Linked DNA regions of Homo sapiens: region 1 is linked to region 2. Evidence: promoter capture Hi-C in 16 types of primary human blood cells and fetal thymus (Javierre and others, 2016). All regions are on one chromosome and are shown on one strand. Each heading gives the region's core, a stretch centred on a gene start or on the middle of the fragment in contact. The rest is flanking DNA. Distances are from core to core; before and after follow the strand shown.

What was found. Contacts are between HindIII fragments. The CHiCAGO score rates a contact against its expected background, and 5 or more counts as called.
Region 1: a contact is called between a fragment that was not itself captured here and the fragment with the promoter of NXPE3 in region 2, in 7 of 17 cell types (total CD8 T cells, naive CD8 T cells, non-activated CD4 T cells and 4 more). The highest score is 7.1, in total CD8 T cells.

Annotation. Positions count from the first base shown.
Region 1 is chr3:101,569,264-101,573,000 of GRCh38, reverse strand. No RefSeq gene overlaps it. Among named protein-coding and RNA genes, the nearest start is that of PCNP, 3.0 kb to the left of the region's middle. The HindIII fragment of the contact is 1,391 bases long and covers 898-2,288 here.
Region 2 is chr3:101,777,578-101,781,759 of GRCh38, reverse strand. NXPE3 (neurexophilin and PC-esterase domain family member 3) reads right to left here and starts at 2,549. Exons shown (of 8, transcript NM_145037.4): 1 at 2,436-2,549. RefSeq lists enhancers at 1,827-1,876, 2,441-2,735 and a silencer at 2,287-2,636. The HindIII fragment of the contact is 3,350 bases long and covers 1,110-4,182 here.

The sequences.
Region 1 (3,737 bases), core at 344-2,843, 210 kb after region 2:
CGGATGGATTACTTCTCGGGCTTCAAGTCCAGGGAGTGGAGAAAGAATGAAGAAATTATCAAAGTGTGTTTCCCATGACAGAAGCAGGGCAGTGTGGTGGTGATTTTGTGATCTAGGTTGAAGTCCCTGATCCATCATTTATCATATATGTAAAAGTAACCAGCAAACTATCTTACAGGTACTTAATTCATGTTTGTTTCATTTTCCTTGTGATCTTTTCAAGGTAATCATTGAGACTCTCGTTTCTATCATTTTAAAAATGGAGATATACACGAAGATTTTTATTTGAGATTATGTATTTACAGATGCTTGTAATTTTTTATGGGGGGTGGAATGGAGTCTCTCATTCTGTCACCCAGGCTGGAGTGCAATGGCATGGTCTTGGCTCACTGCAACCTCCGCCTCCTGGGTTCAAGCGATTCTCCTGCCTCAGCCTCTCGAGTAGCTGGGACAACAGGCGCGTGCCACCACACCCGGCTAATGTTTGTATTTTTAGTAGAGACGGGGTTTCACTATGTTGGCCAGGCTGGTCTCGAACTCCTGACTTTGTGATCCGCCCACCTTAGCCTCCCTAAGTGCTGGGATTACAGGCGTGAGCCACCGTGCCCGGCCGATGCTTGTAATTTTTAAGTGAAGAAGATAAAGCTCAGAGAAGTCACATACCTATTTAGGAGCGGATCCAGTTCCCATATACCACACTGCAGAAGTTAAGGATGCATGTGCAGGACTAGGTATGAAAGGAAAAAAACGAAACAAAAAAAGGATGAAGATAGTAATCCATTCACCTTTCAGTTCTGTGAGTTTCATGAGGTGTGCCTGTCTTGTTCACCACTGTTTCCCCAGCACCTGGATTATACTAGTCTGGATAAATATCTATTGAAGAAATTAATGCAAGCTTCAGTAACCTCCTACAAACGGGTTAGGAAATGGAAAGGTAGTGTAGTATGAAGGGGTGGAAAGGGGGTGATCACTTTCCTCCCCATCAAAAGAGTCATGACAACATGCTTGTTAATAAAAGACAGGTTAACAAGAGAAAATTAATGTGCATAAGCATGGGAATGATACAACAAAATAAGAAAACTAAAAAAAGGGTCAGATGGTTGAAGTTTAATACTTTTCATAGGGGAGAGAGAGGTGGGGGGGCTACAGGCAATTTTAGAGGAGTAGTAAATGATTTTAGGAGAGATTAATGCAGAAATTCACTTGTAAATTATTCTCTTTGTAAACCAAGTGAAACTAGAGAACCAATAATAATTCGAAGGCCAGTCGTGGTGACTCACTCCCATAATCCCAGCTACTAGGGAGGCTGAGATAGAAGGATCACTTGAGCCCCGGAGGCAAGGTTGCAGTGAGCCAAGATCTCGCCACTGCACTCCAACCTGGGTGACAGAGTGAGACCCTGTCTCAAAAACAAAAAACAGTAGTTTGAGGCAAAGTTTGGGCTCTAAGTGTGGTGGTTAATTTTCAGTCTCTTCCTCTATGATGTGAGTTTTGTTTTTTTATGAGACCAGGTCGCACTGTGTTGCCCAGGCTGGAGTGTGGTGGCTATTCACAGGCATGATGATAGCACACTACAGCCTCAAACTCCTGGCCTCAAGAATCCTCCCATCTGAGACTCACAGGTAGCTGGGACTACATGTGTGCACCACTGTATCTGGCTTTGTGATATGTTTTAATTTCTTCTGGTTAATGAAATTTCAGGGAGGAAGCAGATAGAAAGCAATTGTGTTCTTTGATGTGTGTGGTTTCTAGGTAGATAAGAAACTTCAAAGAACAGTCTTATCCCGTGTTTTGGGGGAGGCAGAGGATTGAGAGGCAGGAGGTGGGGTGGGGAGATCAGAGAAACCTTGCGGCTGCTTCTCTAGTTCAGCATGTCAAAGCACCAAATTTTGGGGTACCGTTTTCTGACAATGAATAGGCAATGTAGTCCAAGGCAAAGAGCATTAGTTTTGCACCACACAAAAACTCGACTTAAATTCTAATTCTGCATTTTGCTAATTCTGTGAGTTTGTACTGGATAACAATGTTATGGAATATGTTATAACTATACAAATGGAATAATACATATAGGGTTACTGAGGGCATTGGGATAATAAAGGTTAAATCTATAATATGCTGCCTGGCCATGGTGAGAGCTTGCTTCATAGTAGCTATGGATTATAACCTCTAGTGAGCTATTTAAGTGGTTTAAAAGGCTGGAAATGGAAGGTAATATGAGCAATTATTATTTTAATTTAGATGTGTAATTTGTGAGGCGACAACTATAATATCTAACATTTATTCAAGCTTACTATACACCAAGCATTGTTGCAGGTATTCTACATGAAATTCAGTACATTAAATCATTACAACCCTGTGAATTAAGTGCTACTGTTACTCCCATTTTTATGGAAGAGGGAATTTGGGCACGGAAAAGATAAGTAAGAAGTGGAGCTGAACTTGAAATTCAGGCCAAGAGCTACCAAAAAAAAAAAAAAAAAAATTAGAGTGGAGAAGAAAAGTGGCTAATCTTGATTTCACTAACCTTAAGTAGGTTCTTTTTTTTGTTTTGTTTTTGTTTTTGTTTTGAGACAGGATCTCGTTCTGTTGCCCAGGTTAGAGTACAGTGGCTCATAGCTCACTGCAGCCTTGAACTCCTGGGCTGAAGTGATCCTCCTGCCTTAGCCTCCCAAAATTCTCGGATTACAGGCATGAGCCATTAAGTAGGTTCTTAATGTAGCCTTATAATTCTATTACATGTCCTCAGACTATTCTCAATTTCAGTGTACATCAGAATCACCTGAAGGACATGTTAAAACAGATTGCTGGGCCCCATTGCCAGTTTCTGATTCAGTTGACTCAATGGCTGGAGCCCTAAAATTTGCATTTCTAACTAGTTCCCAAGTAATGCTGATGCTGCTCGTTGGGGAACCACACTTTGAGAACCACTGCCCTAATTCACTCACTTTCCTATACTATTTCATGTTTTGTTGGCTCTCCAAAAATGTCCATTACGTCCTCCCACTTGGGATGATTTTGCTTTTTATTTTCAGTGAGAAAATAATAGTAATCAAACAGAACTTCTATATATTCTCAACCATATCTGAGGTGTGGTACCTGCATTTATACCTATATACTATGTGTTCTGTTACTTATGAAGTGGAGCCTGTCCTTGTTTACACACATCACTATTGTTCCATCCGATTTTTCTTTCTACTATTGAAACATTCCCAACATCATACATACATGCTTTTATGTCTCCTATCTTAGTAAAAGACTCTTCTCTTGATCTCATATCTTCCTGTAGCTCCTCATTCCTATTTTCCTTCATATAGAAACTTTGAAAAGATTGTTCATACTCTGTCTCCTATATCTCTGTCCATTCTTTTTTTTATCTTTTGAGACAGGGTCTTGCTCTGTTACCCAACCTGGAATGCAATGACATGATCTTGGCTCACTGCAACCTCCACATCACACGCTCAAACGATCCTCCTGGCTTAGCCCGCCAAGTAGCTGGGACTAAAGGTGAACACCACCATCCCTGGCTAAGTTTTGTAGAGACAGGGTTTCACAATGTTGCCCAGGCTGGTCTCAAACTCCTGGACTCAAGGGATCCACCTGCCTTGGCCTCCCAAAGTACTGGGAGTACAGGTATGAGCCACCACACCTAGTCCCGTCCCTTCTTTTCGTTTTTGTTTTTTTTGAGACGGAGTCTTGCTCTGTCACTCAGGCTGGAGTATAGTGGCACAGTCTCGGCT
Region 2 (4,182 bases), core at 1,300-3,799:
TGTTTTCCCCTACAGAAAAAAGGGGTATCTGTACAGATCTAAAAGTTATTATTCAAGGAATCTAAACTTGAGTGATCCTGTTTTCAAATGTCAGACCACCACTTACTCATGCTTTATTTTTATAATATGTGCAAAGAACAAGCAAAAAGTTAAATGCATGCTCTGCCTTACATGTGGAACCCAGTATTTGTTGGAAGTGTTCTGCCAAATTTTTATTAAGCCTACTTCCATATCCAAGACTCATAGTGGCCAATCTAACTTCTTTATGGCCTGTGACAACAACCCCAGACTGCCATTAGGGTTCCTACCCCCATCTCACAAGAGAATTACAAAGCAGTCACTTACATCATTTGGAATTACAATTGTCAGTAACACAAATGAAATTCCTGAGTTCAATATTAAACAAAGAAAATCAGACAGCAACCCTATCCTCTGGGGAGCTAATGTTCTCAGGCAACCATTCCACAAAGATAATATATTATAGGACAACTGCATAGAAACTGTCCAGTTTCTGAGGCAGTCCCTATCCTAACTACTCTGACCTGTTGGCCAAATAAATGTAACTGTACTAGTCACAGCAAGTGTCTGGAACTTTAGTTCAGAATATATAGTTCAGAACAATAGTAAGAGACAAAAGCACAGATTTACATGGAAAATATCTACACTTAAATGCATATATTTCAAACTTTGCAAAGAGTAGCTGTATTTCATAGGATGCTGAGTAAGACCTTGAAACAGGGCAGGATCTACAGAATGAAGAACTGGAGACCCATCCAGGACCCTAACAATGATGGGTTAACCAAATAGGGTCAATCCTTGAAAAAAGATGAAGCAGGGGCAGTAGTCTGCAGGACTTGTTTCCACAGATTCCATTTCTCCTTCGTGTCCCGCAGCCTCACATGCACAAAGTGCTGACTCATCTGGACCTTCCCTTGCCCTTCTTCCAAAGCAGGGCCCCATGTATTCATGGAGGTTACATAGCAAGTGGAGAAGTAATAAAATCAGTTATATAAGTCACACTGTACTAAGTGCTATTTTTTAAATATTGAACACATTGATAGGTTGTGGTCCTCAACCCTGCATGAACATTAATAATCATCGTGGAAGCTTTTTAAAATACAAACAACTGGGCCCCACTCAAACAATTAAATCAGAATCTGTAGGAATAGGCCCAAGAAGTAGCTTTTTTTAAAAAGGTCCCTAGATGATTACAACATACAGCCAAGTGGGAGAACCACTAGTATAGAGTGGCCAGGGACTGTTATTCGTTTCAGTTGGTAAAAGGATGGCCTTTCCAAAATGATGTTTGAATTGTAACTTAAATTGTCAGGTCAGGACAACCCAATTCCCAGGCAATGGGGAAGGCTAACCCCACTTCAGTGATTTATCCCTTCGTTTCCTTTCTCAGTAACAAATAACAGCACTCTATTGGCCCCAAAGAGATTGTGAGGATAACAGACATGGAAAAAAAAATACTAAACAAATTCAAAGAAAAGCAGAACCCAAACACTACGGAGAAATAGTATACTGCTGCCTCCAAACAATTATCAGGGTCTGGGAGTCCTGCCAGTTTCAAATATATCCTGATGTTCCAAATGATAATTAACCACAGTGAGGAGCGGGGAGGCCCACCAAAGCAGTGTGATTCTTTATCTTTAGGAAATGTGGCAACAATCCCCCTTTAATGTAAATAATGAAAAGCAAAGAAAATTTACAATTTTGCACAAATGCTGCATAAATCCTGCCTCGGAACCCCTCTTATTACCACCCTAGTGGCCTTTGATCAGGCAGAAATGGGCAACAGGCCAGGGTCTCCATATCACACCTTGTAAAGTTACACTCGTTTCTCCCCATACGACCTGAATCTGATGTCCCCAAACGGCAGCTCAGTAAGGCCAGAACAGTCCACCGTGTGACAGCAGCGCCAGCCAAGAGGCAGCTGGTGCCCAGAGCAGCGATGAGCCGAGAGATATGAGATGGGCAGGGAGGCGTCGCCAAGTGCTCCGCACCGGGTTAGTGAAGGTGCCTGGAGGACAGAAGTCTTTCGCTGCGGCGTGGAGGTCCGAACTGTACCGAGCTGTGGCGTTGCCGCAAGTGGAGGAAACTGAGGATGGAGATGCTCGCTCCCGGCCCCGCCCCGCCCCGCCCCGCCGGTACTAGCCTGGGCTCCGGCTTCTTAGCTGCGACGCTTTGGCAACCCAGGGCTCCAATTCTGCCTATGCCTTCGACCCGGGCCTCCCCTCCCTGGCACCTATGCCCACAGCCACGACTCCAGGGGCTGCACCTATCAGCACGGGGCTGGGGACTCGGGAGCAGATGCGCGCGGAGGGAGGGGCTTCGCAGTCTAGGAGCGCGCTGGCAGAGCCGGGCAATGGGTCGCTCCGCCCGCAGCGGCCCCTCCCGACGTCCGCACACAGACCACATCCAGCACTCACCTCCGGGACCCGCCCGCCCTTCGCTCTCCGGGGGCCAGGGATCCTGACGCCCCGGTCGGTCGCCGCAGCGCCAGGCCGCTAGCCCCCCGCTTCCTCACCCGGCGACGTCTCCTCACCTCCGACCCCCGGCTACGATTGGTGGAGCTTCGGCGGGGGCGGGCCGAGGGCGTTGACTGACAGCAGCACGCGCCGGGCGGAACCCACAGGCCTGGAAGCGAAGTTGGCACCCTGGCGCTCTACGCCGCCAAGCTCCTGCTCGCGACGCGACACTGCAGCTGTCGCCCCGCGGATCGAGGTCTGGCCCCTCTCACGACCCAACTCCTCGTGAACTTCGGACGTCTGAGTTTCCTGGGAGCATCCACCTACCTCAAGGCTTTTCGCTTGTCAGCGAAAGTGCCCACAACCGCAGTTGACTCTAGTAGGGCAGTCTTTCCTGTGGAGTGATGGAATTTATTGTGCCCTGAACCAGAGAAATGCGATTTGCCAAGTATAAGCACGGATATAGCGGATCCTTGAATCTTTTCCTTGCTTTGACATTAGTCAACAACTTCTACTCGCCAGTAAAACAGCCCGTTCCTTTTACTCTCACTGTACATGATGTCGGTCTCTTGGCAAAGCATACTTTCCTCACCCTCCACCATCCCCAATTCTGGGTTATCCTATTTTGGACATTTTTCTAACTGGTAAAACGTCGGTAGCAGTTTTGTGAAATTCAGGAACTGAGAGGAGTCCTGAGAAGACACTTGTTCAAGAAACCAGAAGGAATTGTGGGCTGCACCGTGTTTCTCTGTGCTTGGAGCACAGTGGGGTTAACACAGGCCCCAAAAGCAGGCCTGCCCCCGGACTATTACCCCAAGGTTTAAGAAAAATAATTAATGTACATGACAACTAAGTATTTTTCCATTTCTTGACCATAATGGACTCTGCATGCTCATTCAGATGTTTTCATGGCAGGCCTGCTTCGTGGGCAACCAGATCCGTGAATGGGATAAAAGGAAGTTCTGCCACAGGGTGGAAGATCTCTTCTGTAGTAATGATCTTCTTTTTTTTTTTTTTAATATACTTTAAGTTCTAGGGTACATGTGCACAACGTGCAGGTTTGTTACATATGTATACATGTGCCATGTTGGTATGCTGCACCCATTAACTCGTCATTTACATTAAGTATATCTCCTAATGCTATCCCTCCCCCCTCCCCCTACCCCACAACATGCCCAGGTGTGTGATGTTCCCCTTCCTGTGTCCAAGTGTTCATTTATGCAGCCAACAAACACATGAAAAAATGCTCATCAGCACTGGCCATCAGAGAAATGCAAATCAAAACCACAATGAGATACCATCTCACACCAGTTAGAATGGCGATCATTAAAAAGTCAGGAAACAACAGGTGGTGGAGAGGATGTGGAGAAGTAGGAACACGTTTACACTGTTGGTGGGACTGTAAACTAGTTCAACCATTGTAGTAATGATCTGATACTCCTTCTTCCTCGAGGAAATACAGCACTCTGGGACCTTTTGAGGACATAAAAGGGTAGCTTCCTTCTGCTATCGAAGAAGAGCCTCATATACTAGACTTCTGCTCTGATTATGCTTTATCTCCCAGTAGGATCCCCCGCCTCATGTACAGCTTGGCTGTCTTACAAGTGGTAAAATACTTAGGACAAGATGACTTCTAGGTCATGGTTTTGGACCTCATTGACCCCATTCTCCCCCAAGCACTCATAACCCTGAGGCATTTGAGTGATCT